Regions from separate parts of the Homo sapiens genome. Here region 1 is linked to region 2. The links are contacts of gene promoters, found by promoter capture Hi-C in human tissues and cell types (Jung and others, 2019). All regions are on one chromosome and are shown on one strand. The core of a region is centred on a gene start or on the middle of the fragment in contact, and the rest is flanking DNA. Distances in the headings are between cores, read along the strand shown. Region 1 overlaps ADAMTSL2 (ADAMTS like 2). Region 2 holds the start of DBH (dopamine beta-hydroxylase).

Region 1 (5,454 bases), core at 2,810-5,309, 77 kb before region 2:
TCTCATGCCTCCGTTTTGCCCGAATTACGTCCTCTAGTTAGGCAGAAGCCCTCCTTCTGGGAGCTTCTTGGTTCAGCTTGGTGTTTCTGGCCCCCTCGTCCAGGTCCCCTCCCCAGGGCAGCCCTTGCCCCCAGGGCTCGGATGTGCCCACGGTTGAGCCACCTGTCTCCTCTCCAGACCGCAACGTCACGGGGACTCCTCTCACCGGGGACAAGGATGACGAAGAGGTTGACACCCACTTCGCCTCCCAGGAGTTCTTCTCGGCTAACGCCATCTCTGACCAGCTGCTGGGCGCAGGCTCTGACTTGAAGGACTTCACCCTCAATGAGACTGTGAACAGCATCTTTGCACAGGGCGCCCCAAGGAGCTCCCTGGCCGAGAGCTTCTTCGTGGATTATGAGGAGAACGAGGGGGCTGGCCCTTACCTGCTCAACGGGTCCTACCTGGAGCTGAGCAGCGACAGGGTTGCCAACAGCTCCTCCGAGGCCCCATTCCCCAACGTTAGCACCAGCCTGCTCACCTCGGCCGGGAACAGGACTCACAAGGCCAGGTAGGAGGCACTTTCCTGAGCCCTGTCCAGGGCCCTCAGGGGGCAGGATGGGGCCGAGGCCAGGTAGAAAGTGAGGCCCCACTGGGGGGGTCTGGCCAGAAGGGCTGAGGTCCTAGAGGTAGAGGAGAGAGGGCCCCTTCTTCCCGGGGTTCTCCACTCGCTGCCCCGTGGATCTGAGCACAAAGTCAGAGGCCTGGGCTGCAGTGAGTTTTCCCCAAAAGTTATGTCCATGGATTAGGATCCAGGGCTGAGCCCCTATGTGTGCAGCTGATGGGGGGAAGGGAGGCAGGAAGCTAACAGCTCTGAGCATGCCTTGTGAGCCAGGGACAGAGCTCAGCATTTTATATGCATGGAAACATGTCATCGTCACAACCGCCCTTAGTGGTGGGGTTGCTATTTGCTATTGTGGGCTCAGAGAGAGCTAGCGGTGTATTCGAGGTCACAGAGCCTGAGAACCTGGGACCCCTTAGTTTTAAGCCTGGACAGTCATGGCACACACGCCTGTAGGAGGAGGCGGAGCTCCAGGCAGCTCCCCAAGTGCAGAGTGGCTCAGTCCCAAGCCTCAGCAAGGGCTGGAGAGGATCTAGTGGATTCCTCCATGAGGGGCAAGAGCCTGAAATCAGGGATGAAGAACAAGGCTGGCATTGCAGCTGGCAAGGGCCATGAGAGAGTCCACCTGGGGCCAGGCCTCCAGAGCCAAGGCCACAGCTGGGTCTACATGGGCAGCCATGTCTGGGGGCAGCCATGTCTGGGGACACCTGGGCAGTCACAGCCAGGGTTGTCTGGACAGTCACAGCTGGGGACGCCTGGGCAGTCACAGCTAGACCTGGGGAAGTCTGAGGTTGGGAGCTTCCCTGTGTCAGGGGCCAGCTGTGAGCAGGGTGACCCCAGACCTGTCGTGTCCCTACTGGAGCACAGTCCGTGGTGACAAGCCCCGCCTGCCCCCAGATAGAGGGTGGCCACCCTTGCAGGTCCCCACAGTTTCTCCCAGCAACTCACATGTGCCTGGGGGCTACTTTAAACAGGCAGTGAGTGGGGGTTGGAGGCAGGCACGGGCTCACTGGTGTTTGGTTTTGTTTTCTGAGGTCCAACCCAAGCCCTTTGACTTTAGACGCAAGCATGAACTGAACCCGGCCTGGGCTGGGAGTGCTGAGTGGGTCTTCCTTGGGGCTCAGGGACTGAATTTGATGGGAGATTCAGGGTTCACTCTCGAGGTGATGTGGTTTGGGGCCACCCTCCCACCCATCCAGCCCTGGGACCAGAGCAACAAAGCCAACCTCCCTGGTGAGCCAGGAGCCCCAGGGGATGCCTGCCGCTTTTCTCAAACTGTTTTCTGAGGCCACCGAGGTGCCTGGGGCTGCGGGGTGCAGGGAGGATGTCCTGAGCACTTCTGGCAGGCTCTGGGCGGAATCCTACTTTGCAGATGTGGACAGAGTGGGGCCTCGGAGCCTCCTCTGGCTGCCCCTCTTCCCACAGGGGTGGCACAGGGCTGTCTGCTCACCCTTTACCTTGGCATGCTCAAAGCCTTGGGTAGGTGGGGCCTGTGGCTGGTTCTCAGGACTCGGGCGGGGAGGGCCGGGCCTTGCTTTGGGTATAGTGTCTGAGTCTGAGAGGGGGTCCTGGGTAAAGGGCAGGAGGGACGGACCCAGACAGTGCCTGCCTGTGGGAACGGCACTACTCAAGGCTGCCAGTCTGTCTGTGTCTTCAGCGTGGGCCCTCTTCACCTCCCAGGGCAGTCCGGGGCATTCCCTGGTATTCCGTGTGTGAGGCCCACGGTAAGGCCTCCAGTAAGTAGAAGCTATTAGTAGAAAACTGAGCCTCCAAGTGGCAGCAGTGGGGGGTGCCTTTCAGGACCCACTGCCTGGGTCAGGGAGGCCAGCTCTCCGGCAGTCACGGCCCTCCAAATAGAATAGGTTTATCAGAGTGGCACCGAGGCCTCGCTGTGGAATTTGGCTTAAGGCATGGACACTGTGTGAGTTGAGCATCTCTGTCTTCCTCTGGGCCTCAGTTTCCCCATCTCTCACTGGGGGGCTTGTCAGGGGCTGCCCTTTGGGCCCACCAGGTCAAATATTCAGTGATCCTTAGGCCAGGGTCATGGCACAAGCTTACGGATCCTCAAGCCGCTTTGTAAAGAGTCTCTCCTGCCCCATCTTGGTTGACTCTTACCCTCCCCTCTTAGCCCCCCGCCCCAGGATATATTGAATTTCCAGGGCCTGTCAGGGGCCTCAAGGGTCGATCAACTAGGCTGTCAGCACTCAGAAAGGCCCTGACTGCTGAGATGCCGCTGCTCCCCCGGCCGGCCTGCCATCAAAGGATGCTGCCGCACAGGGACCAAAGATGGTGTGGAGAGATAAAGGGCAGAGGGAGGCGGCGGGGGAAACCACCAGGCCAAAATAGCCACGTCTCGGCCGAGTTGTCCAAACACAGGAAGTCGTGTCTGCTCAGAGAAGGCAAAATCAAAGGGGCAGCCCAGAAAGGAAAGGCTATTTTCATCTTTCCAGAAAAGCTTCAAACAATCAAGGGAGGGGCCCCTGTCACCAGACTCCGACTTTGGGAACAAGCTTCTGAGACACAGAGACGCGGAGTCCCTCTCCGCAGCCTTGGGGGGAGAGAAGAACAGAGCACTTTCTGGCTTGTTTATAAACAAACACGGTGGCTTCAGAGCTTCTCCTGCCTGGGGAGCCCGTGAGCCTGTGTCTGGCCGGGCATCTGGGCGAAGGACCCTGAGGAGTGACAGGTGGTCTGGTGGTGACTCCACAGCCGTCACCAGCCCCAGTCTAGCAGCTCTGACTTTCACAGCTGAGAGGGGCAGTGACTTCCTTCCAGATGGAGGAGAGCGACGGTTTGGTGCTTCAGCGATTTCCTTGGTGTTCCGCTTCCCTGTGCTACTTCCAAGAACGGAACCTGCTAGGCGTTGCATTGTTGTGCAAATATATGCAGGGTTATGTTCAAGAGTTGCATCTGCTATGCCCCACACGTGCTGCTGCGAAGAGTGTGTGGGCAGCCCCTCCAGAAATACCTTTGGTGCTTAAAATCCAAAGGGTTATTTTGAACCGGGCCCGCTCTCTCTTGAGTCAGGCATGAGTCATGCTGCCTGCTGGCTCAGAGCATGTAATTAGATAAAGATGGCGGAGCGTCTCCATGGGTGGGGTGGAGGGGCATGGGTTGGATCTTTTCATCTCTTTTTGTTCTTGGGGAGAATTTAAAGCTGTTGAAAGTAGGTGGGGAACTGGTCAGCACAGTTTAGTGTTTTCTGAATCGAACATTAAGGACTGGTCTTCCGGGTTCTCCGTTCCCTGAAAGGACTTACTTATCCTGATCTGGGTGCTCTGAGTGGCCCCCATTGGGGCAGTTTTCCAGGTTTCCAGGGAACTTTTGTTCTGAGATGACAGGGTCTTGGGAAACCCCCCACCCACCCCCATTTTTTTTTTTTTTTTGAGACGGAGTCACTCTGTTGCTCAGGAGTGCAGTGGTGTGATCTCGGCTCACTGCAAGCTCTGCCTCCCAGGTTCATGCCATTCTCTTGCCTCAGCCTCCTGAGTAGCTGGGACTACAGGCGCCCGCCACCACACCCGGTGAATTTTTTTTTTTTTTTGTATTTTTAGTAGAGACGGGGTTTCACCATGTCAGCCAGGATGGTCTCGATCTCCTGACCTCGTGATCCACCCGCCTCGGCCTCCCAAAGTGCTGGGATTACAGGCAAGAGTCACTGCGCCTGGCCCCCACCCCCATTTTTAAAGCTTCCTCTAAGTTCTGAAAGAGGGAGGAGAAGGCACTCTTCCCTTCCCCTTGAGCCCCAGGATGGGACAGACTCTCCTGGCTTGAAGCTCCCAGGTGAAGGAGGCTTTGAAGAAACAGTGGGACCAGCCCCCAGCCCGCAGCCCTTCCTGGGCCTTGGTCCCCATGCCTTCTCCCTTCACTCCTCTTCTCCCTCCCTGAGTTTAGGGAGCCACACCAGTGAACTCACTGCTGAAGCTCCTGTGGGTAGATCATTCCTGGGGCCTCAGATGTGTGGTCAAGGCAGCGTTCATCCCCACAAATACTGCCTGGCTGTGGGATCCTCCCATTCCAGTCCAAGCAAAACAGAAGAGCAATGCTCACCCGCTTGCCTAACACATTGTAAACTCCCCATTCAATCCAAACCCATGTCTGTATCACGGAGTCAATCTGAAAGCCTTTCTGAATATAATGCTCTAAGCCTGACCACCCCCAGGTGACTGAAGGTCCTGAAGAAGGACCTGTGACCTGGCCCACGTTTCAGCCCAGTGAAGTATGGCGGCTTGGGGTCATCTCTAGCCAGCCCCTCTGGGCCCAGAGGAAAGTGGAGTTGGGCAATGCCACCTGCTGCACTGTCCAGTTTAAAAAGGAAGTCGAGGCTCGAAGGACCTGCTGTCCACCGCGCCGGCTTGCCATCGCCCCTTCTCTGGCTCAGGGGCGGCGGGACTCCATGGTGGCGTCCCAGAGCAGATGCCCGGGCTGTGGAGCTGCTGCCGCCTCTGCTTCCCTCCTCCCCTGCCGAGTCCAGAATGAGCCTGCACATTGGATGTGGAGGTTGGGCCCAGGCACACCTACTGGTTCAAAGAAGCAAACAGTCCTAACAATAGTTGGCTTTGGCTGCATAGGCTCCAGCCAAGAATCATAGCTGGTGGCTGGCTGGGACCCAGCGTGCCTCCCCCGACCCCAGCAGGTCCGTGCAGCCATGGCCTGCCTGAATTGCACTGTAGGCTCGGCCCCTGCCAGCAGCCGAGCTTTTTAATTTTGATAATTGGAGGCTGGATGCCTAGTGTCCCCCATTCCATCAGAGTCCCAGCTGGAGGAGGGGGTGGGAGAGAATTCTGGAACATTCTTAGCACATAAGACACCTTCTGAGGTCCCCTCCCCGGTGGGAAGAAGGAACCCACTAG
Region 2 (5,294 bases), core at 2,081-4,580:
CCTGAGGTTAGGACGTCAGCAGAAGCCAGCCTCATGTGGCAGAGGCGATGGGGAATTACAGCCTGCAAAGGCTGATGGCATCAGAGAGATTCAGGAAAGCAAAGGGCTTATTAAAAAGCTGAAATTGGTTCTAAACAAGGTCAGCCGTCGATGCGCCTTGGAGGGAAGCCAGGCGCTGAGCAGCAGGAATGGGGCTTATTTCCTGACACCGTGGCCGTGACACCCTGCACCTCCCCGGCCTACCCCACCCCCAACCCCACTCCCACCCCCATTCCCATCCCCACCCCCACCGCCACCTCTGGAGGGCAACGTGCACCCAGACACTGGAGCAGAGGCAGCAGGGGTGGGAGCAGGGAGGAAAGCCCCCCGCGGGGCACCACAGGGAGGCATGTGGCCAAGAGAGCACCTGGCAAGCAGGTGTCACCTCTGAGGAGGGTGAGGGCAGGAGGAGAGCTGACTGTTGCTTCCTTACCCTGGGGTCGGATTGCTCCCTTTTAAAATCCATTAATGCAAGGAAGGGCGCAGCCACGGGGCCATCCGATTGGATTCGCTCCCTCCCGCCCGGCCCCAGTCTCCGCAGATTTTCTCTGCGGTTGCATTTTTCATTTGAGCGTCCCTTCCTCTTGACTCCAGTGGAATTTTTCTGACCTTGGCTGACAAGGTGTGCAGCCCCCTCCAGCTCAGGGCACCCTCTTTGGGGTGCTTGCCCCAGGCACTGGCCCACCCTGTGAGCTCAGGCGCATTGTCTCGCCTCTCCGAGGCTGACTCTCCTGTGTCTGAGACAGGGATGATCGCACACCCAGCCACCCAAGGCTGGCCAGGATGGAGGCAGGGCAGGGGAAGCCCTGGTGCGGCCTGACTTGTGTCTCCTGTCCCTCCCTAGGACTTAGTTATCAGTATTTTGGAATCAGCTGAATCATTTCTGTCAAATGCTAGAGGAAAGCCAGTTTTGAGTTGGATAAAGAAAATGTCTTTGATTCCTGTTAAAAATAAACATGTGTGCATAACACTGCTGAGCACGAGACCGCACCTGCCGTCCCTCCTTAGAGCTCCCAGCAGCTGTTGGTCTTTGGCGTATCCGGGAGAGGAGCGAGGCCTGGAGGTGTGTTGAGCCGTCCAAGGGCTGGTAGCATCAGGGGCTCTTCACTGCCTCTCGCTCCACAGAACCGCTGGGTTGAAGGAAGCTGGAGGGATCAATTGTCCTTGTCATCCAACTTCCTGTGTCTGTAGATGGGGAGGAGGCGCTGGGTTGGAAAGCGCTTCTCTGAGGACGCCAGCTGCGCATTCAGGAGGGCGGAGCAGGATATGACCCCAGAGCTCTGACCCCGGAGGAGCAGGAGGGGTGCCTGGGGCCTCAATACCCCAGAGGGGAGAGAGGTGCCCCCCTTCCCACAACGCGGGCCCCAGCTGGTGCTCGTTTAGCCTGTTGTCTAGCTGGAGCCACCTGGGTGGCCACCAGGCTGCTGGGAGGGCTCACCCCTGAGCTGGGTGTGCTGTGGAGCCCGTGACCCTCACCTCTGCCTCTGCTGGCTTTTGTTATCCCGTGCTGGGAACACCAGTGCCTGCCCACCCCGGAGGCTCTTCGTATCACCGGCTCGCTGTGGCCGCTCCCCAGTCCCGAGAGTGAATGTCCGGGATGCAGCAGACACCTGCTTACAAGGCACAGGTGAGGAGGTTTTGGAACTAATCTGAGGCATGAAGGTGAGGTGCTCTCAGGCGACGGAGGTGGCATGTCCTGATGGGAAAGCCAGGCCTTCGGAGGCTGAGACCCTTCCCAAGGCTCACCAGAGAACTCCCAAGAGTGTCTTTCCCCTGGCCTGGGAGACAATTTCACACCAATGCCACACTCTATTGCACAGGTGATTATGCACTTGGACCTCACCTGCCTGGGCTGTGGGTGGGGGCGAACGGTGCCCCTCTGGGTGCAATCAGTGGGGAGGGGCTCATGGCCTGAGCTTGGCTTTGCAGGATGGCCTGGCCACTGTGGGGCAGAGAGCACTGCCTGCGAGGGCCAGGGGAAGGCTGGCACTTTCTCCAAATTTCACGTTCGTGCAAAGACACAGTCATTCCTTTCTACAGCGTAGAGCTCAGAGCTGAAGCAGCCTCCAGACCTGCTGTCATGGGTATTTAAGGACCTAAATGTTGCTGTCAGCCTATGACATGAATGTGCCCCTAAGGCTAGATTCTGGGTTTCTCCAGAGAGACGAGAAACAGGAGGGAAAAGGAAGGAAGGGAGGGAGGAGGCTGGGGAGGAGGGACAGCTTCTAGTCCAGCTGGAGAGATCTGTCAACCCAGCCTGGGGGGTGGAGCTGGAGGGATCAAGCAGAATGTCCTGAAGGCAGCTGCCCTCAGTCTACTTGTGGGAGAGGACAGGAGGGAGAGGTGCCGTGGTGAGACTGACCCTCGGGCCCACGGGTGGATGATGGCAAAGGTCCTGTGGCAGGTGTGGGAGAAGCAGGGCTGCGGCCAGCTGCCCTGAGAGGCTTCAAATTCAGGCCAGATCTGCTCTGGGCAAGAGGAAGCTGTGGGTTTGGGAGCTTCAGAGACAGGGGAGCAGGCCTGTCACTCACCCTCTTTTCCTTAAAGGCTGTCACCCCCAGCAGTGCACCCTGCAGCCTGCCTATCCCCTGTGCAGCTCCAGCTCCGTCTGTCCCCAGCAATGCACCCCACGCCCATGTCCCCCACTCCCTATGATGCTCTCGCGCCTTCTGGAGCAGCAGTGGTACCAGCTGGAGGCTGTGGAAAAATTGAGAGGAGACAAAAGTGGGAAGAGCAGGCCGTGGAGAGAGTGTCTAAACACAGGGACTATTTGGAGATTGTCTTATTTTTGGTTTGAAATGGGCCCACCTGCTAGTATTGTACAAACGGCTCTGCTCGCTAGGCCAGGCCTGCAGTGGCTACGGGCCTATCCTTCACTGGTCAGCCTGGAGCAGCTCCTCGGACCTCAGTCTGCTCATCCGTGGGTAGAGGCGACGCAGACCCCATCCCACTGGGGACTGGGCCAGACAGCCTGTGAGGCAGTCAGCTGGTGCCTGGCCAGAGGGTGTCTGAAAGGCCTCTTGGCTGCAGGGTGCATCTGCTTTTGGGACAGCTCTTCAGAGCCATCTCAGAAGGGACAGCATCCGCCTGTCTACTTCAACTCCCACTGATGACGTCCATGTGTCATTAGTGCCAATTAGAGGAGGGCAGCAGGCTGAGTGCTTGGCCTGGGGCGCAAGCTTGTGGGAGGGAAAATTGGATTCCCCGCTAGACAAATGTGATTACCCGTGCTGCCTGGACCCACCCCATTCAGGACCAGGGCATAAATGGCCAGGTGGGACCAGAGAGCTCACCCCAGCCATGCCCGCCCTCAGTCGCTGGGCCAGCCTGCCCGGCCCCAGCATGCGGGAGGCAGCCTTCATGTACAGCACAGCAGTGGCCATCTTCCTGGTCATCCTGGTGGCCGCACTGCAGGGCTCGGCTCCCCGTGAGAGCCCCCTCCCCTATCACATCCCCCTGGACCCGGAGGGGTCCCTGGAGCTCTCATGGAATGTCAGCTACACCCAGGAGGCCATCCATTTCCAGCTCCTGGTGCGGAGGCTCAAGGCTGGCGTCCTGTTTGGGATGTCCGACCGTGGCGAGCTTGAGAACGCAGATCTCGTGGTGCTCTGGACCGATGGGGACACTGCCTATTTTGCGGTGAGTCTCTCCTCCCTGCCAGCTCTCCAAACCCTTCCTGACCCGGCACCCCATCTGGCCGTCTTTCTGCACTCACCCTCCTTAACCCAGAAAGTTCTTCTGTCACCTGTCAGTGTTTGAGTTGACTCTGCTCTGAGCCAAGTCTGCACCCCGAGCTTGGGCATCATGGGGATCTCAGTTTGAGGACAAAATAGGAAAGACATGCTTTCCATGGTCCTTGACTGCCCGCCCCAAATCATGGGACCCAGTAATCCCAAGGAATGGAACTATACACAGAGGACGCACACACCACACACACTCGTGCCGCTCCACACCCCACACGCGCATGAGCACAGACCCCACGACCCTCGGCCCTGTAAACAATGCCTAGTACCACGTCCCCAGAGCACACATGCCCACTGATGTGGGCCAGGTGGTGGCGCGTGGCTGGGCACAGCATGAGGCCTGCACACCCATGGGATCCAGCCTGACCTACTGTGCTTGTACCCGTGGACCAACTGAGCAGGTGCAGACACCCTGCCCCTACCCATAGGTGTTGAACAAGCCCCACAGGGCTCAGCCAAAACTGTTAGGATGGGCTCTTGACTCCTTTCCGTCCAAATTTACCTCCACTCTTGTTTCACAGGGTGGAGAAAGGGGAAAAGTTTCCCTTCAAACTGGAGGGGACTTTAGGCCCTTCCACAAGCTGCAGGGGGTCCCCGAAGTGGGCGAGCCCACCGCCTACAATGGGTCCTGCTCCAGCCTTCCTTTCCACATGGGACTGGCCACCAGGGCTTCTTTGTGGATGAAACCCAACTCTCTCCACAGAAACACACAAAGGAGTGACAAAAAAGTTTTATTTCTGAAGTCAGGAGGTGCCTGCTTTATCTGGGAGTGCCGAGCTGGAGCGGGGGAGCTGTGTCTGTGCGGAGCGGCCGGCTCCAGCTCTGCATCTTGGTCTCACCATGGGCTGGTGGGGCGGAGAGTCCCTCTCTGCCTTTTTGGGTGTTGTGAATTCATGAGGGCAGATGGTGGCTGCTGTTTCTGGAGCTGAGCTTGCCCCCTCCAATTCCCAAGACTCGGCCAGGAGGCACTTGCCTGTGTCGCTAGTGAGGCTTAGGGCCACCCAGGTAGGGTGAGTGGAGCTGCCTGGGAAGGGCCCTGCTCTGACCCATAGGGCTGCACAGATTCCTGTGCACAAAGACACTCTGTGGCTCAGGTTCCAGCCAAGAAAGACCTGGGACAGCCCTGATTCTGAGCCGTCAGCCGTCTGGAGGAGCAGCTGAACCCCATCGCTGACAGTTTGGGGTTCTTCGCAAGCCTCTGCCATGAGGCACCCTGAGTGCAGGAGCATTTGCTCCTCTCTGGGGCAGCGTCCCCCCTGCCTGCATTTCCCGGCTGCTAGGGAAGCCAGAGGAAGCCAGGTGACTTTGCCTTTCCGTGCACTGGCAAGGTTAATTTGCACAACAAATTCCTACGAAAGCAAATGTCAGCCTTATTATTCCTCCCTAAGCAATATGTTCAACTAATATCTTCTTGATTTCCAGCTGAAATATCACAGGCGAACTTTCTGCCTCTGTTTAAAATGAGTCTCTCGGCAAACCAGCGGTGTCCCCAGCGGGGTTGCATTGTGTGGC

Evidence for each region. Contacts are between HindIII fragments. The study calls those that stand out against the background at their distance.
Region 1: a contact is called between a fragment that was not itself captured here and the fragment with the promoter of DBH in region 2, in 3 of the 25 tissues and cell types used here (H1 embryonic stem cells, IMR-90 fibroblasts and dorsolateral prefrontal cortex).

The regions. Positions count from the first base shown.
Region 1 is chr9:133,555,381-133,560,834 of GRCh38, forward strand. ADAMTSL2 (ADAMTS like 2) reads left to right here. Exons shown (of 19, transcript NM_014694.4): 11 at 178-550. Among named protein-coding and RNA genes, the nearest start is that of ADAMTSL2, 23 kb to the left of the region's middle. RefSeq lists enhancers at 1-460, 461-962, 1,465-1,966. The HindIII fragment of the contact is 5,763 bases long and covers 1,179-5,454 here.
Region 2 is chr9:133,633,033-133,638,326 of GRCh38, forward strand. It overlaps DBH (dopamine beta-hydroxylase), which reads left to right and starts at 3,331. Exons shown (of 12, transcript NM_000787.4): 1 at 3,331-3,678. The coding sequence starts at 3,340. RefSeq lists an enhancer at 4,596-5,294. The HindIII fragment of the contact is 16,885 bases long and covers 1,173-5,294 here.